Linked DNA regions of Homo sapiens: region 2 is linked to region 1. Evidence: promoter capture Hi-C in human tissues and cell types (Jung and others, 2019). All regions are on one chromosome and are shown on one strand. Each heading gives the region's core, a stretch centred on a gene start or on the middle of the fragment in contact. The rest is flanking DNA. Distances are from core to core; before and after follow the strand shown. Region 1 holds the start of PPIL6 (peptidylprolyl isomerase like 6). Region 2 has its middle 48 kb from the start of GPR6.

The links. The method cuts DNA at HindIII sites, captures the fragments that hold promoters and counts their contacts. A contact is called where the count stands out against the background at its distance.
Region 2: a fragment that was not itself captured here is called in contact with the fragment with the promoter of PPIL6 in region 1 in 1 of the 25 tissues and cell types used here (dorsolateral prefrontal cortex).

Annotation. Positions count from the first base shown.
Region 1 is chr6:109,438,867-109,442,758 of GRCh38, reverse strand. It overlaps PPIL6 (peptidylprolyl isomerase like 6), which reads left to right and starts at 2,131. Exons shown (of 8, transcript NM_173672.5): 1 at 2,131-2,303. The coding sequence starts at 2,169. It overlaps SMPD2 (sphingomyelin phosphodiesterase 2), which reads right to left and starts at 2,035. Exons shown (of 10, transcript NM_003080.3): 1 at 1,588-2,035; 2 at 1,306-1,402; 3 at 1,131-1,207; 4 at 692-785; 5 at 460-549; 6 at 134-216; 7 at 1-7. The coding sequence starts at 1,637. RefSeq lists enhancers at 1,151-1,230, 1,391-1,460 and silencers at 1,874-2,079, 1,721-2,540. The HindIII fragment of the contact is 4,118 bases long and covers 1-3,892 here.
Region 2 is chr6:110,024,340-110,028,591 of GRCh38, reverse strand. No RefSeq gene overlaps it. Among named protein-coding and RNA genes, the nearest start is that of GPR6, 48 kb to the right of the region's middle. The HindIII fragment of the contact is 6,911 bases long and covers 1-4,252 here.

The DNA of each region.
Region 1 (3,892 bases), core at 882-3,381:
TGTGTGGCTGGGGGAACCAGGTTGGTGAGGCGGGAGTTCTTCCATCACCAGCTCTTCCCCATGACTGGGGCCTTGTTCACCCTCAGCCCCTGGGTCCCATCCCACTTCCCATTTCAAGCCCAGGCTCACACACTGGATGAACTGGGCCAATTCCCAAGCTTGGGCCACACGATGTGCTAGGTAGATGTCCTTCTGTCGATTGTATTCGGCATGGAGCTGAGCAAGATAGATGAGATCACAGCAGATAAGACTGAGGGTCCCAGGGGTATGTCTGAATCAAGCCTGTGTCTGTCACTTGGCATGGTGTTTGGTATACAATGGATAAGCCTTGCCCATTGCTTCCTTATAAGATCTTGCCCCCACACCTCATCCCCAGGTATGAGAGCTAGAGAAGTACCATCTCTCTGTCCCAGGACTGGGCTGCATGTCCCAGCCCTAGGCACTGCCAGCTTCACTCACATGGGTCACATAGGCGTTGAGCACCATGCCACTTAGATGGAGCACCAGCAGCCCCACAGCCTTCCCACTGAACCAGTCACCATGATGGATCTGCAGGCAGGAGGAGATAGAAACTCAGGGCACCGCCACCATCTTTCTGCCCATCCCCTGCAGCTCTCAGAGGGCTGCCTCCTCTACCTTGTATTACTGGAGGTGGGGAAGGGAGGTGGAAGAGGTCAAAGGTCTGCCTTACCATGTAGGGGTAGCCATTGAGAGTGTAGATGTGCTGGGTAAGCTCCTGGATTGGATGTTTGGAGAAGACACAGAGGCCACTGCCAATGATTCCGCTGAAAGCCAAGCCCTGCTTAATAACCAGAAAAACAGGGAGAGACACCCAGCCTTCTTCCCCTCCCTTGTCTTCCAGCTCTGATCAGCTATTTTTTTCTTTTTCTACTGCTGGGACTAGCCCTAGAACCAAGGCGACAGCCTTTGGAGGAGTATAGGGCAGCCAGAAAACAAAGCTGAAATGGGCTGAAGTCATAGGACCTTCTTGGTTCACCCTTCTCCTTCTCTCACATCCAGAGGGAGAGGAGGCTGGAGGAGACTGGAGAGTGCAGGCAGGATAGGGAAGGGCTGGCAGGGCCAAGAGCCTCCTGGGATGACAACAGGCTTCAGGCCAGTGGGCTTCTCACCTCCGGAAGTGGTGTGCAGCTGGGTAGGTAGGTGACAGCTTCTGTCTCAGGTACTGGAAGTCCTGCTCACTCCACACCTGAGGGAAGCGGTGAGGATGCCTGCTTGGTCTTTCCCCAGTGGGACGGTCTGTCCCTCCTCCCAGCCTGGGTTCCGCACCGTGCTGCACAATCTCACCTCCTCCAGCAAAGCCAGGTCGAAGCTCTCCTGGTTCAGAAAGTCTCCCAGGCGCCTCATGCGGTCGGCCCGGTGCTTGCTCAAGTACGGAATGCCCCTAAGGAAGGGAAGAGCGGGGCAGGGGAGGCGACTGCTGGGACCACCGGCGCTGGGGCCAGATGTGGACTTTGGAGGTTCGGGTTTTCCCTACACCCTGAGATCGTGGGGCGGGATAGGGGGAGGAAGGCTGCATGGGTGCGAACGGAAGGTGGCCCCCAGACCGCACTCCGCAGACGCACTCACCAGCAGTTGAGGTTGAAGATCCGCAGTCGCAGGGAGAAGTTGGGCTTCATGGTTGGGGAGCTCCAGGGGCGCTAGGCGGCTCGAACTCTCCAGCGACGGCCGCGGTGGGGACGGGGGCGGCCGGCGGCGCCTTCTCCCCAGACCGTTCCTTCTTCGCAGGCGGCGCGCACAGGTGGGCACCAAGCCCGCGTGGCTCAGGTCGGGCCCGACTCCCGCGTTCCCCCGGCAACCGGCCGGCTGTTCCCAATCAGGCGGGCCGCCAACCCGGAAAGGCGATCCGCTGCCGAAATCCGGGCGCCCAGGCTCGGTAAGGGCCGCGCGCTAGGACCCTGGGGGTCCGGAGAGCGCCCCCGGGTGGGCGGCTCCCGGTTCCTTTTCCTCCAAGCTCGTCCCCGGCGGTCGCGGCCGCCCGCGCGCCGGCGGCCCAGCAACAGGCGCAAAGTTGAGGAAAGGCCCAGCCGCCACGGGCCGCCCTCGACCCGCCCCTGGGCCCCGCCTCCTGCGAGCGGCGGAGGCGGGGCCGCGCGGTTGCCGGAGCGACGCGCAGTGTTTGGGGTCACCGGGCGTCCCCGGGCGCGGCCATGGCAAGGCCGCAGCCGTGCGGGCCCCCGCACGCTAGGTGCGGCTCGCCGTCGCTGCCGGAGCGGCCGCTGCAGGTGAAGGTGGTGGGGCTCTTCAGCTGCCCCAACTTTCAGATTGCGAAGAGCGCCGCTGAGGTAACCACAGAGAAACCTCCGTCGTGGGCGGCCCTCCCCGCTACCCGCTCTCGGCCGCGTGGACTGCAGGCGCCGCGCCTCCTCGAGGCGGCGGGGGTCGAGGCCCCACCGGCCGAGGAAGGGGCTGGCGTGTCCTGGCCGGGCGGGCTCCGTCTGGAGGACCGGGAGGAGAGTATAGGGGGGCAAGTGCGGGTCCGGGGGCGGGCGTTCCACTTGGCGACTTTTAAAGGGAGAACTGAGCGAAGGAAGGGTTCAGAACCGCGCTGGGAGATAAGGTAATCCCCTCCGAGACACACACACACACACCCGCAGATTTTGTTCTACGTCAATTTTTTCTTTAATTAGAGATATTTAAATTTATGGAAAAATGATTACTATATAACTAGCTAATTTTTACAACCCCGCCACCTCGGCCCAAGCGATTTTTGTTAACTATTCATGCGGGGAGATTCTTTTCTTTGAATTTTATAGAGCCGTCACTGCGTTCCAATCGAACTAGATGCTTCACAAGTGCTTTGGAAAATCATTTCTTTGTAAACACTCAGAACGATACTAAAGGAAAAGCACTTGAGGAAACTGGAAGAATTTGGCCAGATCAGTCATGCTGCAGCACACTTACAACCTGAAATGCAGGAGAAATGTATGAAATGTCGGCATGTAGAATTCAGCCCTTCTTACAGGGTTTGCTCCAGAAATGCTGTCCATGGCAAACTTCTCGCCGAAGCTCACTTGACTCCAGGACCATGCCTTAATTAATGTTTTTAACTCCCGAAGTACCCAGCTGGATACTTGACAACAAAATGTTCCCAAATAGAAGATATCTTGGCGCGGTGACTCACGCCTATAATCTCAGCACTTTGGGAGGCAGAGGCGGAGTTCTAGACCAGCCTGGCCAACATGGTGAAACCCCGTTTCTACTAAAAATACAAAAAATTAGCCGGGCGTGGTGGCGGTCTCTGTAATCCCAGCTACTCAGGAGGCTGAGGCACAAGAATCGCTTGAACCCGGGAGGCGGAGTTTGCAGAGAGCTGAGATCGCGCCATTGCCCTCCAGCCTGGGCGACAGAGCCAGACCCCGTCTCAAAATAAATAAATAATAAAAAGAAAACAAGTGATCAGAAGTCTGTGAAAATAATACATGAATCATCAAAAGTAGAAATTGTGGTCTGTGTTGCTTGGGCAGACGGGATCAGCAACCTTTTATTACCAAAGTTAATGGCCATGAAGTTAATTACAAAGTTAATGTATTAATGAGTTTCAGAGATTTTTTTTCTCTTTTTTTTCGCTCTTTTTCTGAAGGCACATATTTTCTGTGCCGACTCCACATTGTAAAGAAAGTGTTGACAAGTTTTTTTCTGTAAAGTCCAGATAGTAAATATGTTAGGCCTTCTTGGCAATAGGGTCTCAGTCACACCTGTTTAGCTTTTTCCTGTGTTGCAAAAGCAGACACAGAGATGGAAATGAATGACAGTATTCCAGTAAAACCATATTATGGACACGAAATTTGACTTGCGTATAATTTTCACATAACGTGAAATACAATTCTTTTGATTTTTTAGAATTGTTTACAGGCCGAGCGCGGTGGCTCTT
Region 2 (4,252 bases), core at 203-2,702, 590 kb before region 1:
TGATCCACCCACCTTGGCCTCCCAAAGTGCTGGGATTACAGGCCTAAGCCACCGTGCCCGGCCAATATCCTACTTTTTTAAAGAGATCAAATTAATTAATTTTTGTGGGGGGTGAAATTATTAGGGCTCAAATCAGCGATGGCTTTGATCCCACAGTTAGGTTTCTTAGAGCAGGGCATATCAGGGAGCATGCCAAACACAGCCAGGGTGGCCCAGGTACCTGTCTCCAGGTGCACCTCTTCGGGTTGTCTAATGTCAAAAGAAATGCAATCAGAGGCACTCTGGCAACAAGCATAATCCAACATCTGATTAATCTGTGTGCTTTCTTTCAAAAATGGGTTGGAATCAGCTTATAAAATTATCTGTAAGAGGATAGAAGATAAACAGTTGAGGAAATGGAAACAAAGGGAAAATAATGAAAAGAGATAAAGCTAAGAGTGAGGCAAAAACACTAAGATAACTACTGCTATGGTCTGAATGTGTCCCCCAAAATTTGTGTGTTGGCAACTTGACTTCCAGCACAGCAGTGTTGGAGGTGGGGCCTTTTGGAAGGTAGTTGGTCATGAGAGCTCTGCCTTCATCTATGGATTAATGCTGTTATAAAAACGGCTTGTGGGAATGGGTTCTTTCTCTCCTGTTCCTCTGTGAGGACACAACGTTCATTCCTTTCTTGCCCTTCTGCCATGTGAGGATGCAGCAAGAAGGCCCACACCAGATGCCAACACCTTGATCTTGGACTCCCCAGTCTTCATAACTGTGAGAAATACATTTCTGTTATTTATAAATTACCCAGTCTGTGGTATTCTGTTATAGCAGCACAAAATGGGACTGAGAGCTACCTAACATTAAGTCCTATACAAGAGTAGAAGTGGGCTGCAAAATTGACTGAGCCTCCTAGCAACTGAAGCAAAAAAGGAAACATAATCACAGTTCAATCACAGTGGCCATAGATAAAAACAAGCCTGTTTCTACACATGGTATATTTAGCACATCATTTTTCTGAGATTTGTTGGGCAGAAAGAAGACTTGTTGATATGGACTTACATGAGATTTGTCAGGAAATCTGAATGCTTCTTACTACCATTATTGTTTTTGACTTTGCAAAAATTCTATCCTTGCTCATGCGTAAATTAGAAATATCATGACTTCAGAACGTTGGATGTTTCAGCTCCTGACCAAGATGAAAATCACAAACTTGCCAGTAGATTTTGAATCCAGTCCACATTCTCAATATTCTTGAGCCTCCGGAGTATCCCTTTGTTGAAGTGGATTCCAGAGAGGAACGGACTTCTCTGGGTCCAGTGTAACTGATCAGAGACAACCTCTGGGATGTTGCAAGGATTGTGGGAACCCAGAGCTGAACAGTGGATTCTTCCAGGGCATTAAGGGCCAGAATAATAATGTTATCTTGTCCATACAGAGGAAAAATTACAAGTTTTATAGCTACTAAATACAAGGCTCTTCTGGCATTAGGCATGATAGATATCTCAGGGAAGTGAAAAGGTCAGTACTCATTTTAGTAAAGGTTCCCCAGATCTGAGGAAGAGAGGGTATTCCAGTTGGCCTGAGGGGAAGACTGGCATTCACTTCAGTCTTCATTCTTGAGAAGATTTACTAGTTTAACATCATGGTAAAATAGATGTTAATTCTAGGGGGAAATCTCTTCCATTTTGTAATTTAACTAAAAGATAAAAAATAAATGAGCGGATATTTTCATATTTTTGAGATACCTATAATGCCTAATGTTAAAAGATACATTTATTAGCTATGAAACTTTTAATTTTTCAATTGTTTTGGCAAGATAACATTAATAGCCATAATATAAAATAGAAAAAAATTTACCCCAATTATTCCTATACAATATATCATTCTTATTTTGTAATTCTGCTTTTGTACCAAATGATATATCATACAAAAATTTAATGTTATGCAAGCATATTCATAATTGTCTTTGTAAATGACAATATTAATTACATATATAAGTTAGTTAATTATTTCCTTATACACTTACATTTATCCAGTTGCTTCACAAGTATAGATCGTGCTTTGGTAAAGCATTCTTTTCTTTTGGAATATATTACTCAGATGGCATTTCAGAGTTGAAAGGCTTGAAGATTTTAATGGCTTTTAATATGTATTGACGAATTGTCAAAATTCTGCTTCAAATTGCAATAACACCTAGCAATATATGAATACACAAGTTTTACCAGTCTCATCAACATTGGGTTTCATAAGATTTTCTATATTTGGCTAATCTATTATTTAATTTTTTAACATAATGCATCTGGGTTTTCTTTTTAACCTTTCTTCCTTTTATTTTTATTTTTCTTCCAACTTTTATTTTAGATTCAGGGGATACATGTGAAGGTTTGTTACTTGGGTATATTGTATGATGCTGAGGTTTGGGGTATGAATGATCCCGTCGCCCAGGTACTAAGCATAGTACCCAATAGTTAGTTTTTCAAAACTTGCCCCTTCCCCCTGCCCCCTCTGATAGTCCCCAGTGTTTATTGTTGCCATCTTTATGTCCATGAGTACCCCATGTTTACTTCCCACTTATAAGTGAGAACATGTGGTATTTGGTTTTCTGTTTCTGCATTAGTTCACTTAGGATAATGGCCTCCAGCTGCAACCATGTTGTTGCAAAGGACATTATTTTGTTCTTTTTATGGCTGTGTAATAGTTCATGGTAATACATACAATTTGGTTCCTCCCTCGTATGAATTTTTGGTTGTGTGGAGTGGGATGCAGAACATTTTTTCATATGTATTTTGCTACTTATATTAAGGGAGGAGATCACCCCTCATATTGTCTTATGCCCAATTTCTACCTCCAAAGAAAGAAGAAGTAAAAAGTAAAAGGCAGGAATGAAATCCACAGGCAGACAGCCCGGTGCCATGCCCTGGGCCTGGTAGTTAAAGATCAACCCCTGACTTAACCGGTTATGTTATCTATAGATTCCAGACATTGTATGGAAAAGCATTGTAAAAATCCCTGTCTTGTTCTGTTTCATTCTGATTACCGGTGCATGCAGCCCAGTTACATACCCCCTGCTTGCTCAATTGATCATGACCCTCTCACGTGGACCCCCCTTAGAGTTGTGAGACCTTAAAAGGGACAGGAATTGCTCACTTGGGGAGCTCAGCTCTTGAGACAGGAGTCTTGCCCATGCTCCCGGCTGAGTAAACCCCTTCCTTCTTTACCTCAGTGTCTGAGGAGTTTTGTCTGTGGCTCGTCCTGCTACAATATCTTTTCTGTGTGGATTGTATCATTTCTCAATAATGAATCTCAACAATTTCTTCATAAATCATAATTTCTTCATATTATGTAAATATTCATTACATTTTTAATAAAAATATTTTTTTCTATTTTCTTAGTTATCCCATCAAACTATTACACTTTTATGTAGTTGGTTCTGTTGATCTTTACTTTTGTACTTTCTTTGATCACTTAATAGCTTTAAGTTAACCCAGAGATTTGATAATAACTTAGTTTTGTTTTCTGCTGATTTTTGTTTTATAAAAAATGTTTAACTGTTTAATACACATATGGAATTTATTTTCAGTATATGATATGAAGGGTTAGATTATTTCTTTCAAAATAGCCTAATTATCATTCCTGAGAACATTTAAATAATCCTTCTTTTCTTCATTATTTTGTGATGGTTCCTTTATCACATAATTAAGTTTTCACAATAAGAGTAAGTCTCCTATACTTCCTATTCTCTTTATTTATTCACATGTCCATTTTCTTTTGTCAGTAGCCTGTTGCTTTTACTCATTGTTTTAAATCATACTTAAATATCTGGTCGAGCTAGTTTTCTCTGATGTTCTTTAAAGGAATATTTTTTGTTTAAAATTAGTTAATAATCATAACAGCTAATATGTAATGAGTGCTGACCTTGTGTTAGGCACTGTGCCAGGCTCTTCATTTGCACTCTGCCATTTAATCTTTGCCACTATTCTATAAGGTAGGGATTATTGCTGTCCTCACTGTACAGATGAGGAAGTGATGCTTAGAGAGGTCAAGTAATTTGTTAAGGGTCAGACAGCTGAAGCCAAAGCCTGATCAATCTATTTTTGTAGGGAGTCAAAAATAAGATTTTTGGCAGATGCCAAGTCCTTCTTTACTTTGAATGGGATTGTTCCCAATCTATAAAGTAATGAGAAGAACAATTGGCATTTTATCAACAGTTCTCTCAGTCTTATAGAGTGCCCTTCTTCGTTTATGTCTCTTTTCCATATTCAGGGCT